Regions from separate parts of the Homo sapiens genome. Here region 1 is linked to region 2. The links are contacts of gene promoters, found by promoter capture Hi-C in blood cells and fetal thymus (Javierre and others, 2016). All regions are on one chromosome and are shown on one strand. Each heading gives the region's core, a stretch centred on a gene start or on the middle of the fragment in contact. The rest is flanking DNA. Distances are from core to core; before and after follow the strand shown.

Region 1 (6,537 bases), core at 607-3,106, 1.0 Mb after region 2:
CGGGGAATGCCATGAATCGACCTCCATCCTGAGCTCTCCAGGCCTGGGACAATGGAAAGTGGATAGGGGGCTGTCTTCCCAGAAGGAAGCTGGGTCAGAGGTTGGTGCCCCATGGGCTCCACCCAGAGCCCCATGGCAGTCTCCATCCATTGGTGCCAGGACCTGCTGGGAACAGGCTGAGAGGGTGGTTGGCCCAGTGCACAGTGCCTGGCACTAACAACCTGATCGTGGGCCAGGTGTCTGCCTCGAAACTGCCTGAAGGCAGGCAGGGTAGGACAATGTCTGGAGGCTCACGGTTTTATAGACTAGGGGTCCCCAACCCCTGGGCTACAGACCGGTACCAGAACCGGGCCACACAGCAGGAGGTGAGCAGCAGGCGAGCAAGGGAAGCTTCATCTGTATTTACAGCCACCCCCCCATTGATCCCACAGCAGCCTGAGCTCCGCCTCCTGTCAGATCAGTGGCGGCTGGAGATTGTCATAGGAGCTGGAACCCTATGGTGAACTGCGCATGTGAGGAGGTTGCGCGCTTCTTTTGAAAACCTAATGCCTGATCTGTCGTTGTTGCCCATCACCTCCAGATAGGACTGTCTAGTTGCAGGAAAACAAGCTCAGGGCTCCCACGGATCCTACATTACTGTGAGTTGTATATTTCACTATATGTTACAATGTAATAATAATAGAAATAAAATGTACATAAATGTAACGCACTTGAATTATCCTGAAACCCGCCCTCACCCACCAAGCCGTGGAAAAACTGTCTTCCACGAAACCGCACCCTGGTGCCCAATAGGTTGGGCGCTGCGGTTCTACAACAGACAGCCTTCTTCTGCTGTGTGACACTGTGCCCGTCACTTTGCCTCTGTGAGCCTCAGCGCCTCATCACTACCGCAGGAGGAAGGTGAATAACGGTATTATCCCCATTTTTTTGACGAGGAAAGCGACGCTCAGGGAGGTGCCCAGGGTTCGCAGTTGAAGCTCAAGCCCTGGTCGGCCTGCAGACCCTGTGCCTGGAGCCCAGTGCTCCTCCCTCCCGCCACGGGATGTCACTGCGATGCCTGACCGGGGGCGCGTTGGGCAGCTGCCCCGTTCTGCAGAAGAACAAACCGAGGCCCCGCGAGGCCAGGCGCCGGCCCCGCATTCCGCGACCGGCCCGGGGCGCGGGCGCTACCTGGGGCGCGACGTTGCTCAGGTAGAACGTGTCGTCCATGGCCTTCTGGCTCCAGCGGTGGTTGGCGGCGGCGGCCAGGTGACCGCGGTCGAAGCCACTGCCGCGGTAGTCGGCGTTGGTGGCACGGTGGTACGCGTGCACCGAGTCGTCCTCGCGGAAGTCGCACTCGCGCCGGTCGCCGTCGCCGCGGAGACGCTCGGGTCGCAGCTGCTCCACCACCCAGAGCGCGCCGCGGGTGCGCGGGTCGTAGCACAGCACGTACGACTCGCGGCTCTTGAGCTGCGCCAGCCCCGGCAGCCCGTACTTGGCCAGCTCGCCCGGGCCGCGGGGTCCCCCGGGCACAGGGGGCAACTCGGCTGCCGCCGCCACGGGCAGCACGGGCAGCCGGCCCAGCAGTCCCGGCGCCGCCCGCGCGTCCTCCCGCCGCCGCCGCCAGCCCTCGACGACCGCACCCAGCCCCGCGCCCGACGCCAGGGTCAGGCCGGCCCGCAGCGCCCGCATGGCCGGGGAGCGACCTAGCGGCGGGCGACCCGCGAGGCTCTTAAAGGAGCCGCGTCGCGGGATCCAACGAGGGCACAGGGCTGCTGGGGCCGCGGACGATAGCGTGACCTCCCTTCCACTCACAAACACTGCCAAGGGCTTGGGCCTCGGAACCCAGAAGGGAGCAGCAGAGCCCAACCGGGTGTCCCCGGCGTCCTTTCTTTGCGCATTTAAGACGCCGGTATGAGGGGCGTGGCATCGTCGCCTCAGCTCGCGATTGGCCACCATCAGGCCTGGCTCCGCACCCGCCTCGCAGGCCCCCTGCTGGTCGTGGGGTGGGAGACACTCTCTCCTCTGCGCCTGCGCAGGGAGCTCCTGCTTAATACGCTCCGCGGAAGGGTCAAGCACTGTCGAAAGCTTTTACTGTCACTGCTTAGTCTCACCCTCTACACCGCTCGGAGAGTGAGCTCCTAGTTCGCAGAGCAGGCACAGGGCCCCAGGTATATCTGGCCCTAGGCTATCCTCCATGACACCATAAAATAAGCCCCGCAATTCTACCAGATTGGCAAAGGTTTCTTTTTTTTTTTTTTTTTTTTTGAGACGGAGTTTCGCTCTGGTCGCCCAGACTCGAGTGCAATGGCGTGATCTCGGCTCACTGCAACCTCCGCCTCACAGGTTCAAGCGATTCTCCTGCTTCAGCCTCCCAAGTAGCTGGGATTACAGGCATGCGCCACCACGCCCGGCTAATTTTGTATCTTTAGTAGAGACAGGGTTTCTCCATGTTGGTCAGGCTGGTCTCAAACTCCCGACCTCAGGCGATCCGCCGGCCTCGGCCTCCCAAAGTGTTGGCATTACAGGCGTGAGCCACCGCGCCCGGCCCAGATTGGCAAAGATTTTAATTAACAGCAGTTTGAGGACAAGGATGCAGACGGCTGATGCTGGCTGCTGGCTGGAACAGAAACCTGGGGCGAATATTCCAAAAAACAGCTTGACAGTACAGTACAAGCGAAGCCTTAAAAAGGTTCATACCGTTCAACCCACGCAGAGGGCTGAGCTGGGGAAATCTCGGGAATGCAAGGATCTCGAACGCAAATATTCACCAGAGTATTACACTGCCGGCAGGAATAAGCAAAATATTCAGAAATATGGACTGGTTAAGGACTTTTATTTTTTGAGACGGAGTCTCACTCTATTGCCCAGGCTGGAGTGCAATGGCGTGATCTCCGCGCAGTGGAACCTCTGCCTCCCAGGTTCAAGTGATTCTCCTGCCTCAGCCTCTGAAGTAGCTGGGATTACAGGCGCGCACCACCAGGCCCAGCTAATTTTTTTTTTTTTTTGAGACGGAGTCTCGCTCTGTCGCCCAGGCTCACTGCAACCTCCGCCTCCTTGGTTCAAGCGATTCTCGTGCCTCGGCCTCCTGAGTAGCTGGGACTACAGGCGCGCGCCACCACGCCCAGCTAATTTTTGTACTTTTAGTAAAGAATGGGTTTCACCATGTTGGCCAGGCTGGTCTCGAACTAACTCCTGACCTTGTGATCCACCCACCTTGGCCTCCCAAAGTGCTGGGGTTATAGACATGGGCCACCCAACCCAGCCACTCTTAGCATTTTTTTTTCCTTTAAGGAAAATAAGGTCTTGTGCTGTCACCCACACGGAGTGCAGTGGCAAGATCACAGTTCACTGCAGCCTTGACCTCCTGGGCTCAAGCCATCCTCCTGCCTCACCCTCCCGAGTAGCTAGGACCACAGACACATATCATGATGCCTGGCTAACTTTTAAATTTTTTATAGAGATGGGGCCTCGCTATGTTGTCCAGGCTGGTCTTGAACTCCTGGCCTCCAGTGATCCTCCTGCCTTGGCCTCCCAAAGTTACAGGCATGAGCCACTAAGCCCTCCTGAGGTCAGTAGTTTGAGACCAGCCTGGCCAACATGGCGAAACCCTGTCTCTACTAAAAATACAAAAATTAGCTGGGCATAGTGGACCGTGCCTGTAATCCCACCTACTGGGGGACTGAGGCAAGAGGATTGCTTGAACCTGGAGGGCGGAGGTTGCAGTGAGCCGAGATCATGCCACTGCACTCCAGCCTGGGCAACAGAGTGAGACTCTGCTTCAAAAAAAAATATGGGACAGGGTCTTGCTTTGTTGCCCAGGCTGTTCTTGACCTCCTGGGATCAAGTGATCTGTGGGCCTCAGCCTCCTGAGTAAATGGGACTACAGGCTATGGTGTATCACCATACCCAGCTACTTTCAGCAATTTTGAAATATACATTAACTATAGTGACCATGCTGTAGTTTGTGTTTTTTTTTTTTGGAGACAGAGTTTTGCTCTTGTTGCCCAGGCTGGGGTGCAATGGCGTGATCTCGGCTCACCACAACCTCTGCCTCCCAGGTTCAAGTGATTCTCCTGCCTCAGCCTCCCGAGTAGCTGGGATTACAGGCATGTGTCACCATCCCCAGCTAATTTTTTGTATTTTTAGTAGAGACAGGGTTTCTCCATGCTGGTCAGGCTGGTCTCGAACTCCCGACCTCAGATGATCCACCCACCTCAGTCTCCCAAAGTGCTGGGATTACAGGTGTGAGCCATCGCACCTGGCCATACCATGCTATAGTTCTAAAAAAAAAACATTCCTGGGCCGGGTATGGTGGCTTAGGCCTGTAATCATAGCCCTTTTGGAGGCCAAGGTGGGAGGATTGCTTGAACCAAGGAGTTCAAGACCAGCCTGGGCAACATAGTAAGACCCCCGTCTCAAATTAAAAAAAAAAAAATCCTCCTGTCTAGCTGAAACTGTACCCTTTGACCAACATTTCCCCATTCCCCACCGCCCCAACTCCCACCAATCCCCAGACTCTGGTACCATCATTCTACTCTCCACCTCTATGAGTTGTTTTACATTCCGAATATAAGTGAAACCATGTCGTGTTTGTCTTTCTGTGCCTGGCTTATTTCACCTACCGTAACGTCCTCTAGGTTCTTCCATGTTGTCACAAATGACAGAATCTCCTTTTTTTTTTGAGGGTGAATCTCGCACTGTTGCCTGGGCTGGAGTGCAATGGCACAATCTTGGCTCACTGCAACCTCCCCCTCCCAGGTTGACGCAATTCTCTTGCCTCAGCCTCCTGAGTAGCTGGGATTACAGGTGCACACCACCACGCTCGGCTAATTTTGTTGTATTTTTAGTAGAGATGGGGTTTCACTATGTTGGCCAGACTGGTCTTGAACTCCTGACCTCGTGATCCACCTGCCTCAGCCTCCCAAAGTGCTGGGATTACAGGCGTTAGCCACCACGCCCGGCCTTGTCTTTTTTTTATAAGCCATTCTGACAGGTGTGAGGTGGTATCTCATTTTGGTTTTAATTTGCATTTCCCAGATGATCCATGCATTGTTCAGCATTTTTTCAGATAGTTGCCAGAAATTTTTATGTCTTTTTTTATTTTTTTTTGAGACAGAGTCTGGCTCTGTCACCAGGCTGGAGTGCAGTGGCTCGATCTCGGCTCACTGCAACCTCCGCCTCCTGGGTTCAAGCACACACCACTATGCCCATCTAATTTTTGTATTTTTAGTAGAGACGGGGTTTCACCATGTTGGCCAGGATGGTCTTGATCTCTTCACCTGGCGATTCGCCTGCCTCAGCCTCCCAAAGTGCTGTATGTCTTCTTTTGAGAAATATCTATTCAGGTCCTTTGCGTGTTGTTTAAATCACATTGTTTTCTTGCTATTGAGATTTTTGTTTGTTTCTGTTTTTGTTTTTTAGACAGAGTCCTGCTCTGTCACCCAGGCTGGAGTGCAGTGGCACGATCTCGGCTCACTGCAACCTCCGCCTCTGGGTTCAAGTGATTCTTGTGCCTCAGCCTCCTGGGTAGCTGGGATTACAGGCACCCACCACCACTCCTGGCTAATATTTTTGTAGTTTTAGTAGAGACTGGGTTTCACCATATTGGCCAGGCTGGTCTTGAACTCCGGACCTCAGGTGATCCACCCGCCTCCGCCTCCCAAAGTGCTTGAATTACAGGCATGAGCCACCATGCCCAGCTGCTACTGAGATGTTTTAAGTACTTATATATCTTGGATATTAACCCCTTATCAGATGTATGGTTTGCAAATATAATCATGCATCACATAAAGATATGTAATCCAAGCTACCCTGGGATGCTGAGGCATGAGAATTCCTTGTACCCCGGAGGCTGAGGTTGCAGTGAGCTGAGATCGTGCCACTGCACTCCAGCCTGGGCGACAGAGCGAGACTCTATCTCAAAAAAAAAAACAAACCAAAAAAAGTATGCCAGGCTAGGTGGCTCACACCTGTAATCCCAGCACTTTGGGAGGCCGAGGCAGGTGGATCACAATGTCAGGAGTTCAAGACCAGCCTGGCCAACACGGTGAAACACTGTGTATACTAAAAATACAAAAATTAGCCGGGTGTGGTGGCACACACCTGTATTCCCAGCTACTGGGGAGGCTGAGGCAGGAGAATTGCTTGAACCCGGGAGGCAGAGGTTGCAGTGAGCCGAGGTAGTGTCACTGCACTCAAGCCTGGGTGACAGAGAGAAACTCTTGTCTCAAAAAAAAAAGTAATAATAATAAAAAATAAAGAATGATACACCTGTCTGTATAAAGCGCTTACCATGAATGGAGCTTCTGGGACAGGAAGTTGCTCTGCGTGGGTCACTGAGGAGTGAATGTGAAGGCCCAGAACAAAGTCTACTCTACGCTACTGTAGACTTTATCAACACTATATTTAGGCTACACTAAATTTATTTGAAATACTTCTTTCTTCAATAATAAACCTTAGCTTACTGTAACTTTTACTTTTTTTTTTTTTTTTAGGCGGAATCTTGCTCTGTTGCCCAGGCTGGAGTGCAGTGGCGCGATCTTGGCTCACTGCAAG
Region 2 (7,104 bases), core at 3,948-6,447:
AGGGAGCGGGTTTTCTGGAACAGGCAGCCCCATCGCAGGATCCAGGACCCAGCACCCACTGAGCCTCCAGACCTGGTACCCAGGGCTTTGTTCACCCACTCTCTAGGGCAAGGGCGGCTGTTTCTCATCTCACAGAGGAGGAATGGAAGGTCCCAGACAGGAAGCAACACAGCAGGAAGCGAGCAGGTTGTGTCTGCTTTCCCCACTCTTTCCGTCCCACCTGTGCCTCTGTGCAAATATATGGAGTGTGCACAGCAGGCATTTCATAAAGGCCAAAAGGGAAAGACACCTGTGCAGCTGAAAGAACGTGCTTCCAGGTGCAGCCACGCAGAGTAGGACCTACTGTACAACAAGTCAGCAAGGTGCAGCGTGTGCCCCGCCCTCCCGGCCCACCAGAGCCTCCTCTCTTGGGGCAGGAGAGCACAGGATGGGGGGAGGAAGGCCTGAGACTTTTGGCAAAGAGCCCACCATTGCTGGCCCCAGGAGACCTCCAAGATGCTTCAGGCTCATAAAGGCAGCTTTCCTTCCCTGGGCCTCCAGGGTGGGGGAAAGTGCCACTCCACCCACAGGGGCAAAGTGGAGGGGCAAGGCCTGAGGAAGGGCAGGGGAGGGACCAGCCAGCACAGCCTGTGGTCCTAGGTAGGCAGCACATCTGGACCTGGCTGCCTCTGGTGCCTGTTACTCATTGTTTTCCCAGAGGTTCTGGCTACATCCTCCTCCTCCCAGCGAGGAACCAGTCCCTCAGGATGGGGAGGGCGACACTTCTGGGCCTCCCACCCACACAACGATGCCCACAGCCCTGCCCACGCTGACCCCAACCACATTAGCCATCTCACACCCCCAGCCCCGCACAGGGTGTGTGCCCACCCCCTCCACAGTCCCCTCTGGCCCTCGCACACCCTTTCTCTCCCTCCTGCTGTCTTTACTCTACCTCCACACAACAGCATTCTCCCTAAGTCCCAGACACACCCACCCCTTCCCTTAACCCAGTCCTCACTCGGAGGCCACCATCCTCTGACTCTCGAAGCAGAGCCCTCAGGCCTCCCCATGCCTCCACACTTCCACAGTCTCTGCTGCCCACACACTTCTGTGTCTCCTCATCGCCCTTCCCCCTGCCCCACGGCCCTGAATATTGGAACTGACACTAACATCTTAGTCTGGTGTTCTCACATGTGACCTCACTGGACCCTCACAACCACCCTGGGAGGTGGCAAGGTTCCAAACTAAATCCATCTCCATCACTAACAATGGAGACACCGAGGCTCAGAGAAGTGGAATAACTGGCTAAGGTCACACAGCTACTGAGCTGCAGAACCAAAATTCGAACCCACGACTACCTGCCCTGAAGCCCATGCTCTGAACACTCAGCTCCACGATGTCACAAACAGCCCCGGCCAGCCTGGCATGGGGACGACCTTCACCTCCCCAAATCCAAACACGCGTACTCCAAGGAAGCTTCCTCACAAGAGCCTCTTCTGAGTCATTCTTCAGAGCATTTTTCTGCTCAGCTTAACTTCCTTCAGTCTAGGATATGACAGTATCTCCCTGCAGCTCAAAGCCTGCTACTACCCTTTGCTCTGAGCTCTGTCCGGAAGAGTCCCTTAATTGGAGAAGGCGTGGGTTTGGGGCTACCCTAGGCTGCAGCCAGTCACTGGCCCAGGTCATTAAAAGCCTCACACTCAGTGGTGAGTAAGCATGAGCAGAAACTCAGTCTCGAAGCTCAGACTAGAAACCTTAGAAAAAACTCACATTAGAGATGCGGAAACTAAGAACTAGGAAAATCATGATTTCTGGGGCCTGAAATCAGATCCTCTCTTTTCAGGCAGCATGATCTGCAGCTGCCTTCCCCCATGCAATCTCAGAGTTTAAAGGGGTTTAGAAACCATGCATCTTCCCCTTAAGGCACAACTCTGCTCTGTAAAAGCCATACTGGGTTGTTCTCCAAACCCAGTTTGAGCAGTCGTTGATGATAAAATCACCCTTTTCCCAGAGGGCAGCTCTAGTTGCTACAAACCTAAGTCTTTATAATCAATGGAAATTGGCTCTCCTGAAATTTCTATTTATTGAGCCATGACTGCTCACTGGAGCCAAAGAGCACTGCCACTTTCCTGCCTTTAAATATTTGTTGTTAGCCGGGCACAGTGGCTCACACCTGTAATCCCAGCACTTTGGGAGGCTGAGGCGGGCGGATCACTCAAGGTTAGGAATTTGAGACCAGCCTGGCCAACATGGTGAAACCCCGTCTCTACTAAAAATACATAAATTAGCCAGGTGTGGTGGTGGGCGCCTGTAATCCCAGCTACTCAGGAGTCTGAGGCAGGAGAATCACTTGAACCTGGGAGGCGGAGGTTGGAGTGAGCCAAGATCGCACCACTGCACTCCAGCCTAGGCAACTGAGTGAGACTCCGTCTCAAAAAAAAAAAAAAAAATTGTTGTCAACGTGCATGGCTTCTCCAAGTTTCCTCCTTCATGCTAATGAGAACCAGTTGGATACTGTTTGTCTTGCTAAGGTAAAAGGCTAAGAACAGCCTGGCTCTTTCATCACTGTTAAATACCCCACAATCAGGACTTGAGTTCAGGGTGTACACTCTAAATAAAAGCTTTTGTAAAATAAAGTTCAAGCTTACAGACCCCTAAAACCACCAGGCAGTGACTGGAACCCAAGGCCTATCATTCAATCCACTGCTTTATCTGTCATGTTTCCAACCAAATCCCAAACCAGAATGCGCTAATTTTAATTTGCAACTCAACCTTGCCACCCTCCCGGAGGTGATTCCCTTGTTTTGCTCTATTTGTTTCTTTTCCACAGCACTTACCATCTTCTAACACACTTTACATACTTTACTGTGAGAACATACACTCAACTAATCAGGGATCTTTTGTCTCTTTTGCTGACTTATTTCAAGCACTTAGAACAGTGCCTGCTCATATAGTAAATGCTAAGAATCTGTTGAATACATTGATCCAATAAATACATTTATTGGATGCCGACTATAGCTGGGCTGTGAACTGTATCACGTTGCTGGATCCCAAATCCAATCGGACATGAATGCTCCCTGAACCCTGAAACAAGCCAACATTTCATCTGGCTCCAGAAAGGAGCTAGGAAACCAACCAAAACCTAGGTTGAATCTGTACATTTTCTTAAAACAACTGAACTCCCAAACAAGACTAAGACCTTGGATTCATCTTTGAACTGCATAGAACCTGTATTTCTCGGAGGGTCCTTTTGAGAGACAGTCTCATCCTACGCTTAAAAGGGCCCAGTGAGACTTGGGCTGCAGTCTCTTGGCAAAGCCACTTACTGCCAGATTCATAGCTGCCACTTTTTCAGCATTCCTTTTGCTAAAGAGCACTCAATTAGATCTGCCACAGCACAGGTGGTGGTTATCACTGGGTCCTCTGGCCTCATGGAGCAAGGGTGGGAGCAGCTCATCTGTACCCTGGGACTTCAGCTGAGGAGGAGGGTCCAGAAATGCCCCTGGCCTTCTTGCCCTTTCCTTAGTAGTGTCCAGTACCCCCTGGTGGATGGGCTGCTTGATGGGCAGATTCAGAGCCACCTCTGAGAGCGTGAGAGCTGCAGACGTTGACCCCCTGGACTCCTGCAGCAATTCCCAAGGAGCCTCTCCATCATCTGACAGGGACTCCGTATCCAGTGAGTGCACGTGCATCTGGGTTTGGCTGAACCAGTCTGCAGAGGGCAAGACTTTGAGACTTTAATATATGGCTTTTGACCAAAGATAAAACGCTGGTGCAAGAAGTCCCGAGTCTACTATTTTTTCCAGCCCAAGGAAGAGAAGAACAATCTCAGTGGAGACTGTTCCAGAGAAAACGTAAGGCATTCTAGAAATGCTGCCCTGCTTCGGAATGGTCTTCCAGAAAGGGGAACCCCAGACAGCCCCCATCGGCCCCTCCCCCTAGCCAATGAGATGTAACAGCAGCTGCAGCAGCAGCAAACATCTACTGCACTCCTACCGTGCCAGGCCCTGTGCAAACCGTGCGGCAGAGACTGACCTGCAACCAATTCCTGTTCCACCTCCTAGCTGGGTAACTTGAGGCGTGCACTGCCCCTCGGAGACTCCGCATTCTCATTTGTAAAACGAAAAACAATCTACCTCAAAGGATTGCTGGGAGAATTCAATGAGATGATGCTTTGCCCAGGGCCTGCCACATAGTAACTGCTTAATAAGAGGTAGTTCTCAAAGTAAGGGATGACACTGAGAAAAGGAAAACTACTGTTACTTAAGGGGTTCTTAAAAGTCCTAGAAGCCATTATTTATGCATTTAGGTATTTCCTAAGCGTTTGCTGATACCAGTTTTTCAAATAAACTTTATCCTCACAGCATCTTCGGGGTGGAAGGGGCAGAGGGTAGAGCGACAGACCTGCCGAAGGAGGAAAACCAGACCCGTGAAGGTCCAGGGGGGTGGCCGGCAAGCACCGAGGAGGAGTCCCCCGGCTCAAACCCTCTTGCGTGGCTTCAAAACATCAGACGCGCCTCTCCTCGCGGAGAAGCTGGGGGCCATTATTTGTGAGGCAGTCGGCGCTGGGACTCTAAGTCAGCACCGCAGAGAAGTGGTCATCTTTTGTTCCGAAAGAAAAAAACGCACGTCAGGGCTCAGAGCCCGAGGAAAGAAAAGTCAGCGCCCGAGACGCGAGACGCCACGCGGATGCTTTCAACGCTAGGTCAGGCCCCGGCAGAAATGAGAGGGGGGCGGCCCCGGTTCTGGAGAAGCCACGAGCCCCCAGGGAGCTCAGAGTGGGGTGGTGCTGGGGCCCAGAGGCCCCCCTGGGCGCCGACCGGAGGAGGGGAGAGGGGCGGCGGCGGCCGGGGGGGTCCCGGGCTCCGCTCACCGGGCCGCTGCGTCTGGCGTACCTGGCGAAGCCAGGCCCTGTCAGCCCGGAGCCGGGCTGGGGTCGCCAATGCTCAGAGGCCCGGCCCACAGAAGCAGCCGGTGGCGGCCCGGAACTCACCTGCACTCGCAACTGCGCCGCCGCCGCCTGTCAGTCAAGCGCGCCCCCTCTGAGGCGACGCGCAGGGTTGTGGGGCCGTCTGGCGACGCCCCACCTCCTTCCCTCTGCCGTCCAATCGGAAGAGGCTGACGCCAGGAGAGGGGGCGTGGCCACGCGGACTGTGCGTGCCGGGGGCGGGGCCAGACGGGGCAGGCGCTCTGACCGCTCTGCCGCGCGCCGGAAGCAGCCTGGGCCGCTGCGCAGAGGCGCGGCGGCTGTACAACTCGGCCGTTGTCACCATGCCGGTCGTCCGGAAGATTTTCCGTCGCCGCCGGGGCGACTCGGAGTCAGAGGAAGATGAGCAGGACTCAGAGGAGGTTCGGTGCGTTTGGGGCGGGGCTCCCATAGGCTTGGTAAAGATAGACTTGTTTGGGGGACTCACCACCGGCTCGGCGCTTCGCTGACATTGTTAACTGTGAGCTCGGGTGGTGGTTCCTTCTGCGGACGCAGAAATTGAGGCTCAAGGGGTGAGGCCACCGCCCCAAGCTCGAACGGTTGAGAGAGATGCCTCCGGGATGCGCAGTGGCTCTGACTCCCGGTGGGTCTAGGCACAAGGTCGTCCTCTGGACCACTGTGCTGGTGGCTCAGTAGCTGGGCTGGGATGCCCTCGAAGGTGCCTTATTGGCTCTGTTAGCTTTGGATTCCGCGGGGAATCACTCAGCTTATGCATTGCTGCTTCTTCTTCTTTTTAAAGATTAAAACTGGAAGAGACCAGAGAGGTACAGAACTTGAGGAAGAGGCCCAACGGGGTGAGGTGGGTACCACGCGGGGAGGAGGAGGAGGCGGCGGGGACGACAGACACATCCGCGTCCGGGTCGCTGTCACAAATATCTCCTCAGACGTAGATTTTTCTCTTGACACACTGTACACCTTCCACTGCCCAACTTGGAGAACAGCGTTCTTTGCAAATGTTTAACCAGGACATGCCCTGAGCTGTGTCGTCTCGGGGTGTGCTCCAGAGATACAGAAACAGATCACTAACTCGCGTTTTTTATTAAAACCAATTAATTGTGAAATGCATATCGATCGTTAAGAGTTTGTATAATTTAGAAAAGTATAGTCAAGACGATAAAAAGCACCCATAATTCTCCCATCCGGAAATGATCAGTGTTAACATTTTTTTTCCTTGCAGAGCCACCCAAGAATGCACTGGTATTAATATTGAATACTCTTTCCAATCTGTTTTTTTTCGTCTCTCTCTCTCAGATTGTGAACAACTTTCTATGTACTTTTATTCCCTGTTCTTTTCAACTCATTATGACATTGTGGGCATTCACCCATATTGTGGAATATTTTTCAGAAAGCCTTAATGGCTGCATAATATTCCACCAGATGTGTGTATTGTAATTTGTTAACAAATCCCCTATTTTGGGACATGTAGGTGATTTTGTAAATTTTTACTATCAAATAAGGCTGCAGTGGATATTCTCTTAAATTTATCTTTAGCTGCACTTTCCATGATGAGAATATCTTAGAAATGAGATTTCCAGGCCAAGATAATGCCAAATGGCTTTACAGGAAAGTGGCAAAGTGTACCACTTCACCACCAGCGCACCCTTCTTCCAGCATCTGCGGTGCTCGTTGAGCCCTGTCTTATGCTTATAGGCTTTTCCAGCCGGCTTGCCTACCCACCCCTCAAATCCCACCCTTGCACTAATGTTGCAATCCGCATACCTGAGAGGGTTCCTCCTTATCTCTGAATTATGCCATTTCTCTCTCTCCCCCTCTCTTTTTTTTTTGGTTTTGCTCAGTGCTGTGGCCTTGCTGGTGGGAGAGAAGGTACAAGAGGAGACCACTCTAGTGGTAAGTTATGGGGTCTTCCCTGAGTAGTTATGGCAGCCCTCCCTGCAGTGCTCTTCAGTGAGTGAGCGTGCTTCACAAAAAAAAAAATTCCACTACCATGTATTTAGATGCTTCCTCTTAACTGTGTTTGCTTTCTGCAGGATGATCCCTTTCAGATGAAGACAGGTGGTATGGTGGATATGAAGAAACTGAAGGAAAGGGGCAAAGATAAGTAAGTTCAGGACAAGCTTAGATGCAAATTCACCTTTAGCGGCTGCCTGGGTCTAGGTTCCCTCAGAGAGCTGGGGCCT

The links. Contacts are between HindIII fragments. The CHiCAGO score rates a contact against its expected background, and 5 or more counts as called.
Region 1: the fragment with the promoter of ENDOG here is called in contact with the fragment with the promoter of C9orf78 in region 2 in 5 of 17 cell types (fetal thymus, naive CD8 T cells, neutrophils and 2 more); the score reaches 9.0 in fetal thymus.

The regions. Positions count from the first base shown.
Region 1 is chr9:128,813,819-128,820,355 of GRCh38, reverse strand. ENDOG (endonuclease G) reads right to left here and starts at 1,856. Exons shown (of 3, transcript NM_004435.2): 1 at 1,171-1,856. The coding sequence starts at 1,671. It overlaps KYAT1-SPOUT1 (KYAT1-SPOUT1 readthrough), which reads left to right. Exons shown (of 25, transcript NR_182311.1): 25 at 1-705. It overlaps SPOUT1 (SPOUT domain containing methyltransferase 1), which reads left to right. Exons shown (of 12, transcript NM_016390.4): 12 at 1-705. RefSeq lists enhancers at 853-942, 893-1,458 and a silencer at 1,563-1,622. The HindIII fragment of the contact is 1,677 bases long and covers 393-2,069 here.
Region 2 is chr9:129,833,368-129,840,471 of GRCh38, reverse strand. C9orf78 (chromosome 9 open reading frame 78) reads left to right here and starts at 5,197. Exons shown (of 9, transcript NM_016520.3): 1 at 5,197-5,333; 2 at 5,706-5,765; 3 at 6,763-6,814; 4 at 6,955-7,025. The coding sequence starts at 5,251. USP20 (ubiquitin specific peptidase 20) reads right to left here and starts at 5,014. Exons shown (of 26, transcript NM_001110303.4): 1 at 4,973-5,014. RefSeq lists enhancers at 571-1,071, 4,264-4,764 and silencers at 4,736-4,885, 4,916-5,265. The HindIII fragment of the contact is 4,419 bases long and covers 2,625-7,043 here.